Linked DNA regions of Homo sapiens: region 1 is linked to region 2. Evidence: promoter capture Hi-C in 16 types of primary human blood cells and fetal thymus (Javierre and others, 2016). All regions are on one chromosome and are shown on one strand. The core of a region is centred on a gene start or on the middle of the fragment in contact, and the rest is flanking DNA. Distances in the headings are between cores, read along the strand shown. Region 1 has its middle 46 kb from the start of SLC4A10. Region 2 holds the start of DPP4 (dipeptidyl peptidase 4).

The links. The method cuts DNA at HindIII sites, captures the fragments that hold promoters and counts their contacts. A CHiCAGO score of 5 or more calls a contact.
Region 1: a fragment that was not itself captured here is called in contact with the fragment with the promoter of DPP4 in region 2 in 2 of 17 cell types (non-activated CD4 T cells and M2 macrophages); the score reaches 6.2 in non-activated CD4 T cells.

Annotation. Positions count from the first base shown.
Region 1 is chr2:161,576,065-161,580,410 of GRCh38, forward strand. It overlaps the pseudogene KRT18P46. Among named protein-coding and RNA genes, the nearest start is that of SLC4A10, 46 kb to the right of the region's middle. The HindIII fragment of the contact is 760 bases long and covers 1,109-1,868 here.
Region 2 is chr2:162,072,406-162,076,954 of GRCh38, forward strand. DPP4 (dipeptidyl peptidase 4) reads right to left here and starts at 1,810. Exons shown (of 26, transcript NM_001935.4): 1 at 1,571-1,810; 2 at 994-1,081. The coding sequence starts at 1,576. DPP4-DT (DPP4 divergent transcript) reads left to right here and starts at 2,452. Exons shown (of 3, transcript NR_147697.1): 1 at 2,452-2,530; 2 at 3,073-3,206. It also overlaps the pseudogene TIMM8AP1. RefSeq lists enhancers at 1,329-1,528, 1,963-2,660, a silencer at 1,679-1,938 and a promoter at 2,215-3,991. The HindIII fragment of the contact is 4,875 bases long and covers 1-4,549 here.

The DNA.
Region 1 (4,346 bases), core at 239-2,738, 500 kb before region 2:
TGTAAAAACCCTGAGACCCTAGTGGGCAGAGATGCAAGTGGCTGGACATTGAGAGGATCACACTGGTGGAACACACAAATGGTTGGACGTTGAGAAGATCACATTGGCTGAAGAGCACGCCGACAGGCACCAACAGATGCTGGCAGGCCATCAACCGGCGCAACAATGCGGACCTGAGGGGAATTTGGCTGGAGCGGTTGGAGAGTCTGGCCGCTGGGCACACCGACTCCAGGGGAAAACCACCTTCCCACTCCATTCCCCTTCTGGCCTCCCCATCCACCTCGCTGAGAGCTACCACCACTCAATAAAAAACCTTGCAGTCATTCTCCAAGCCCATGTGTGATCCGATTTTTCAGGTACACTAAGGCAAGAACCCGGGATACAGAAAGCCCTCTGTCCTTGCGATGAGGCAATTTGCGCTGATTAACACAAGCCGCCTTTGAAAGGCTACACTGAAAGAGCACACTGTAACACATGCCCACTGGGGCCTCAGGAGCTGTAAACATTCACCCCTAGACGCTGCCATAGGTCAGAGCCCACATTCCCCATGACCTGCCCATCTTCCTGCTCCCCCTAGGGGTTTTGAGCAGCAAGTCATGAAGAAGCGAGCCACACCCCCATCACACGCCCTGTGTGGGGAACAAGGGAACTTTTCCTATTTCAACAGGACTTAAATTTACCCTATATTTTTTGTTTTATGTTTGTTCTCTTAGCTGTTTTCTTCTTCTTGTCTTCTAGTGGGTTGCTTGAACAATTTTTAGTATTCCATTTTGTTTTATTTATAGTGTTTTTGAGTGTATCTCTTTGCATAGTTTTTTTAAAAAAGTTTGCTTTAGGTGTTGCATCATATATAGTTTATCACAATCTACTGGCATCATTATTTTACCAGTTTGCATAAAGTATATAAATGCTACCTCCATCCCTTTCCTCTCCTTTGTTTATAATTGTCATATTTACTCTACATATACATTTAGAACCACATAATAGAGTCTTATAATTTTTGTTTCAATGTTCTATCATAATTTAGAAAACTCAAGAGGCAAAGGAAAGCCCATTTTATTCGCCCATATTTCTGTTGCTACATCCTTTTTTCGTTTCTGATGTTCCAAGCTTCCTTCTTTTAACATTTGTGTTTAGAGAGCTTTTTTAAAGCTATTATTTTAGGGTAGGTCTACTTTTGAAAAACTATCATAATTTTCCTTTATCTGAGAATGTACTGCTTTCTCCTTAATTCCTGAAGGATAATTTCATTGGGTGTAAAGTTCTGGGTTGACAATTCTTTTCACTTGAAAGATACTGTGCTACTTCTTTCTGGCCTCCATGGTTTTTCCAGGGAGAAACTCACTGTTATTCAAATTGCTTTCCCCTACATATAAGGTGTCATGGCTGCTTTCAACACTTTGTCTTTAGTTTTCATAATTTTAATTATGGTATGTCTTCCTGTGTATTATTTTATTATCTTGTTTGGGGTTCAGTCAGCTTCACGAATTTGTAGTTTTGTGTTTCTTGCTAAATGTGGGAAGTTTTCAGCCATTAGTTCTTTAAGTACTTTTTCATCCCTGCCCTCATTTTTCTCTCCTTCCAGGGCTTCAATGGCACAAATATTACATTTAAAAAATACTTCCAAAGGTTCCTGAAGCATGTTCACTTTTTTCAAGTCTTTTTTCCTCTGTGTTGTTCAGATTGAGTAATTTGCATTGTTTGCTCTTTCTGTTCATCATTTCTTTCCTCTATTTCCTCCATTCTGCTGTTGAACTTATTCACTGAGCCTTTTAAAATTTCAGTTACTATTATCTCTCAGTTCTAAATTTCAGTTTGGTTCTTTATATCTTTCATTTATTTGTTGAGACATTCTTTTTCTTTGCTAAAGCTTTTTTTTTTCATTTTTTCAAGCCTGTTTGTAATTACTCATTGAAATATGTTTATAATGGCTGCTTTAAAATCTTTGTTAGGTAATTCTAGCACCTCTATCATCTGTTGTTGGCATCTATTACTTTTTTTCACTCAGTAGAGACCTTCTGGTTGTTAGTGTGACGTGTGATTTTTATGTTTGTTCTCTGGACATTGAAATCTGGACATTTTCATATTATGTTATGAGACTCTAAATCTTATTTAAACCTTCCCTTTTGATTGCACTTCTCTGACACCACTCTAGTAGTGGAAGGAGGGAGGTGCCACCTTGTTAATATCAGGTGGAATGGAAGTCTAGGTTCTCCAATTGGCCTTGCTGACACTTGAATGGGAGGGACTCCTTATTACTGCTGGGTGAGGGTGGGAATTCTGGCTCCCCACATGGTCTCCATTGACACGGTGGTGGGGGTGGCCTCATTATTGCTGGGTGATGGTGAAAGTCTTGATTCTTTAGTAGGCCTCCTCTAACACTACCTCAGTGGGGTGAGGAGGGTGCCTCATTACTGCTTGATGGGGGTAGAAGTTCTGGCTCCTTGTGTGGTTTTTACTCACACTGCAGGGAGGAGGAGATCATGTTATTGGCCAGTTGGATGAATGTCCTCACTCCCTACTTGGCTTTCTTTGATACCACTCTGGTGAGGGGGTTGGAGCATCTCATTACTGTCTCATGAGGGTGGAAGTGTAGGCTCCCCACGTGGCCTTCATTGGCATGGATGGGAGTGGAGCAACAGCTTTTTCCTTGGGGTTAGGCTGGAATAGAGCACTTCTTGTCTAAAAATTTTCTGTCTGACTAGGCCACCGTTTTCCTGGCCTTCAGCTAGAGAGAACAAGCTTTCGTTCAGGCTATTTTGCCCATGCATGTTGGTGTTTTCATGTTTCTGGCTTCTTCAGCTGCAGGTCTCAGATATATTAGGCAAAAATGAATTCCAAGCAACACATGACCATGTTGTTCTTTGGGTTTTGATGTTCCTAGCAAGCAATCTTCTCTCCACCTTTCAGAGTCTTCCTGTGTTTGCCTTACATATTATGTCCAGGGTTTTTAGTTTTACCTAATAGGTGGAATAAAGAAAAGTACATTTATTTCATCTTCCTGGAATAATGTGTCTTATAGAAAAGATCTTTTATTTGCTGCTGAGGTTAGGAGTTTTAGTGGATGAGAATGGGGTAGTTGAGGGGAGGAGGAAGAGAAAGGAGAGGAAAGAAAAACAGGTTCTACCACTCCTAAAAATCTCTATGAGTCCTGATTGAATATTTGTTCATTCATTCATCATTCAGCAAACATTTATAATTCAACACTGCATGCCTACGAGTGTAATTGGTGCTAGGAACACAAGGATAAGTAAGATTAATTTTTGCTTATTAGGAGTTTGAAATCTAGTCTTGTAGAGGCTAACACCCAAATAAGCAAATTATTACATGTTGTAATAAGTGAACTGTGTCCTGAAGTATGAGTAGAAGTTCTCTAGGTTAGCTAAAAAAAAGATGATTTAGACAAAAGAAATGGCTTGTTTGAAGGCACGGAAGCATAACATTTTTTTGGATTTAAAGAATGGCATGCATTGGTGTGAAAAGAGTAAGGGGTTCTTATGAATGAATGGTGGGAGATTAGACTGAAAATATTGGTTAGGACCAGATTGTTGAAGTCTTTAATATATTGTCATGCTAAGGATGTTTTACACTTCTTTTTTTTTTTTGACAGGGTCTCACTCTGTTGCCCAGGCTGGGGTGCAGTGGCATGCTCTAGGCTCACTGCAGCATTGACCTCCCAGGCCCAGGTGATCTCTCCACCTCAGCCTCCCCAGTTGCTGGGACTACAAGCATGCGCCACCGTGCCTGGCTAATTTTTTGTATTTTTTGTAGAAATGGGGTTTTGCCATGTTGCTCAGGCTTGTCTTGAACTCCTGGGCTCAAGCAATCCACCCACCTTGGCCTCCCAAAGGGCTGGGATTACTGGTGTGAGCCACTGTGTCCGGCTGATATTTTACACTTTCTGCAGGCAATGGTGAATAATCTCTAAACTATTTTAGTGGATATTTAAAATAACGACTTTTGGGCACAACCTGAGACCTGTCCTCTCGCTTTCCTCCCTGGACAGCATGAGCTTCACCACTTGCTTCACCACCTTCTCCACCAACTACCAGTCCCTGGGCTCCATCCAATCACCCAGCCACAGCGTCCAGCCTGCCAGCAGTGTGGTTAGCCTCTATGCAGGCGTCAGGGGCTTGGGCTCCTGGATCTTTGTGTCCCCACCAGCTTCTGGGGACACTGGGGGTCTGGAGGCCTGGTCATAGGGATGGCCAGGGCTCTGGTGGGAATGCGGGGCATCCAGAACAAGGGGACCATTCAAAGCCTGAACAGCCACCAGGCCTCCTACCTGGACAGAGTGAGGAGCTAGGAGATTGAGAATCAGAGGCTGGAGAACAAAATTTGGGAAA
Region 2 (4,549 bases), core at 560-3,059:
ATTTAACCTTTGGCACATTTGCCCTGGCCTTGAATTGCACAGCAAGCATGGTTTTCATAGCTCTACAATCTAATTCTGAACTGTCATCCTAAAATCTAGATAAGACTCCTTGAGTATGCAAGCACTGACTATACATTCCTCAGTTGACTAAATCTTCCAGAGAGAATGCTTTAACTGGCTGACTAATTTATAGTGTGTAATGCTGAAATGAAAGCAAGTGTTTAAAAGGAAAGTAAGGCCAGGGGAGACTGAAACTAGTAGTTCTCACTTGCTTGCATCCTACAGTGAGTATTCCATTATGTGAGTGTTTTATACATTTAGGCAAGCTAAAAAGACATGAAAGTCCTTAAATAAAAGAATCCACCAAAACATCACTGATTCCAGACCCTTCTTAAATATTATCGTGTATACCAGCTTTATTATTTAGCTCTGCAATACTGCTAAATTGGTCAATTACTTCCCTGCCTCCCCACCCTCCAACTGAATTCTCACCACCCTTGAGGGAAAACAGTCTGGGTTCCCTGTGGAACATCATTTCTCAAAACTGTATTTTGGGGCTTGCTTTCTCATTTTTCCTTTCCATTTCAGATATCCTTACTGCTGTCTTTGGGCTCTTTAAACACTGCCTTTTTTCCTTTTTCGATCACACCCAAAAACTTTTCTCAAAAATTACATGTAAATTTAAAAATTTACAAATTAAATTTAAAATTGAAATTTTAAAAATCCCGACTCTCCCTAATTTCAGGAAGCATGCATTTATTATACATAACAAGACGTGAAAGCCGCAAGAGTTTCAGCCTAAACACTGAAGACCCCGCGAAGTGAATCCAGCTGCTGCTCTACAAGCAGCAACAACAACTGGGAAGCCTTCTCAGCTACACTTCGGGGCACTGGTCCAACCCCACGCAAAATCCCTCGTTTCCCTTAGCGTGGTAAGACGGAGCCTGACCTGAGCTCCAACTGTCCTATCTTTTTCAAATGTTTCAAACTTACTGCCTTTGTTCAGCAGAACCACGGGCACGGTGATGATGGTGACAAGCGCAGCAGCACCCAGCAGTCCCAGAAGAACCTTCCACGGTGTCTGCAAGCCGAGCAGATCAAGTCCAATTAGAGGGAAGCGTGTGGCCCCAGTTTCCGTAGGAGGGTCGGGGCTGCTCCAGAGGCAGCAGGATTTGCAGGTGGGAGTGCGTTAGAAGAGGGAGACCGCGGGCTGGGGGTGGGGGTGGCGTCTGGAGTGCGCCAGTTGGAGTTCTCTAAGGCGGGTGCCCTTGAACTTGTGCCTTCAGAGCACATTAGCGTTGGTTTCTCTACCCCTGCCCGGGTTCGGGCGTGCGTTCTGTGAGTGGCTCTCCGGGACATTCAAAGCTCGACGCCAGGGTCCTAGCAGAAGCCAGGGTCCGAAAGCTAAGCGAGAGCTCTGGGACGTCCCTTCACCTGTCAGAGGGTGGCCTTGGGGCTTCCGCCTAAGGGGAGTCCCTGGTCCGGTTTCGCCAGCTTTTGGGCCATTTGGGGAGTTTGGCGAAGAGGTCCCCACAGCTCGCCCCGGGGACGTACGTGGCGCGGCACTCACCTTCATCGTCGGCGTCTCCTCGGAAGTGAGCGTTCAGAGAAGGAGCGCAGGCAGAAGTCACCGCGGGCGGCGGAGACGCGCGTCCTGCACCGCTGCTCCGGGCGGTGGAGTCACTCGCCGCTGGCAAGTTTCGGCCCCGAGTTAAACATTAGTGAGCGCCGAGCCCGCTGGGTATAAAGGCGCCGCGGGCAGGCTGCAGGGCAGGCGGCGCGGGAGCAGGCGCGCGTGGCGCGGGGCACTGGCATCCCGGCCGGGGGGAGCCCGCGAGGGCCCCCTGAGGGCGGTGTAGGGCGCTGGGCGGCAGCCGGGGCGCAGAGTGCGGGGCCCGGAGGAGCCGTGGGGGAGGGGAAAGGGCGCGCGGCCTCGGATGCGCAGACCCTGGGCCGGCGACTCGGGGACCCTGCTCCCTCTTAGCTAAAAATGACGTCGGCGTTCAGCTCCTCCAACCTCACGTGGACAGGCGAGGGAACCGAGACCCAGAGAGGGCAGGGGACTTTGGCAAACTCACACAGCCCACCGCAGGCAACTGGAACTGAAACCCAGGACTCCGTCTCTTGCCAGTGAAAGTTATGTTAGGAAGCAGTGAGGGGTCTAAAGCAGTATGAAAGGCAAAGAGAAAAGGTGATTGTTCCCTCTTGAATGGCCCTTGGAAGCTGAGTATCTGGATTCACCCTCCCTAGGGAATTTCCCGATTGTCTTGCAGGCTTACACACTCATCAAGATGACAAAAATAATGACAGTAACACTTATGTGGAACTTGACTTTTTCCCAGGTGCTGCTCTAAGCATTTACTGTGTTTGTTTTACAGGAAGGAAGACTGTACACAGAGAATAAATAACTTGGCCAAGCCATTCAGCTAGGAAGTTGTAGATCCTAAATTAAGAGTTCAAGGTCTTAATGGCTACTCTATGCGGCCTCTCATAGTCTTTTCAAGGGTTTTGGAGAAGAATAAAAGATCAGGTATGGCTTCTCCCTCCCCCAGCTCTCTATTGTTCCCTAAAGGATTATTCATTCGTTCATTCATTCCTACATCCTCCCATTTATTCCAGTCATCCACAGATGTTTGAGTGGTTACAATGTGCCAGCCTCCCTTCTAGGTACTGGAGATAAAGTGGGACAAGAGAGGTGAGGTCTGGACCCTTGGCACTTTCACGATAAAATACACAGGTAAACATTTGCCTTTAGGGCCCCCTGTGATTACTTCCACTCTTGCAGATAAGAGGATAAGGCCTCTTCAGCTTGTTCACAGCAGCTGAAAAGCAAAGCCTCTCTGTCAGTAGAGGTAAAAGATTAAGAATGCAGAGTCCGATGGGGCATTACCACATGATTATGAATTAATGCAATTTTCCATCTTTTATTTCCAATCCAGGCATTGCTTTTGAACTCAGTCATCTTTTCCCCCTTGCCCACTAGTTGCTTGTGATACATCAGTATCCTCACTCACCCCCAACTCCAGAGGCTGAAACTAACTCTCCTCCTCCCTCTTCCAACTGCTGAGGAAGATGAGTCAATGGTGTTACTGGACCCTGTGAACTGATGCTGTGAAGAGAGGCCATTTAACACGGACTACGGGGAATGGTGCCACAGGGGGCTCAGTGCTGCCCTTCACTCTCAGCATTTTGCTCACTCAGCATTGGTAAGCCACATCAGCCTCGGTGAAGGAAGTCTGGAGAGTTAAGCCTGTGCTTCATCTCCATGCCAGCACCATGGCACTCATTGTACATTCAGCAAGCCCCAAGGAAGCTGGCAGGAGGCTGGCTGACATCTACGGGACAGGTCAATTTGTTCTCTGGAGGGCACTCCATGAGACGCAAATATCTTCACACCCTGTGCCCATTTCAAGAGACTCTCTCACATGCCTCCCCCACCTTGACCTCTGTGTCACCAGTCTTTCAATCTTGTTTTTTCCAAATCCTTAAGGTAGCAGCTGGCCAACACATTAGCCACCACTGATGAGTCAGTGTAGATCTTACATTGGGCCATCTCTTTTTTCTTGCAAAATAGAAAAGCAGATGTTCTGCTCAAAGTTCTGTTTGTCAGTAAGATTTCCCTTTCTGCTGTGTTTCAGGACATCCCTGGGAGGGACTCTGATGCAGCAGCCATCTACTTATTGCTAGTGCCAGCTTACTTTGCATAACATTGACTCCTTTCCCTCATCTGTTGCCTAGTTGTAGGAAACTCCTTGTGAAGCTATAGGTGTGCACTGAGGGAGAGACATTGAGTCAATGGGAGCAGGCATCATAGAGTCTAAGTTTTCTGCTAGTCTGAGTTTCTTGTGCCTTGTGGACCTGGTGGGCTTATCTCCTTTATCATATAGATACAATTTTCGCTTAATAATAGCATGCTCCTGCAAATGCCCAATTTTATCATGTGGTAGATTAGGCAACACTCAGTTTATTAGGGTAGCTAGGTTGTGCAGTTACTTGATGTTATGGATTGAATTGTGTCCCTCCAAAAGATATATTAGAATCCCAACCTTTAGGACTTCAGAGTGTGACATTATTTGAATATAGGGTCTTTACAGAGTTAATCAATTTTTTTGAATCTTATATAGCTTTTATTTCAGTGATCAAAAGAATGCAGTAAATGGAATCTACACTAATTAACATTAGGCATGCACCTCTACCTGAAACTGCTGTTAGCTTATGATTGGCCTAAATCTTTATAACTTATTTAGGCACATCATTGAATTTTTTGTACCCTGATATACAGGGTAAGTTAATTTCTTCCTTGTGGCAGTCTAGTAATAAGAATTATGTTCACTGGCTAGATTCCTTTAAAACTAAAGACCTCTAGACTCTCAGGCTGCCTACCTTACCTTGAGACTATACTTAATATGGATATTTAAGCAAATCATCATATAGGAAAGGGAGATCATCAAGAAAACTGAAGTGTACTGTATAAACACTCTTACAGATATTTTTCTCCAGCATTGATAATCAAACACTAGATAAGGATACTAAATTATTCTTCCCCCAC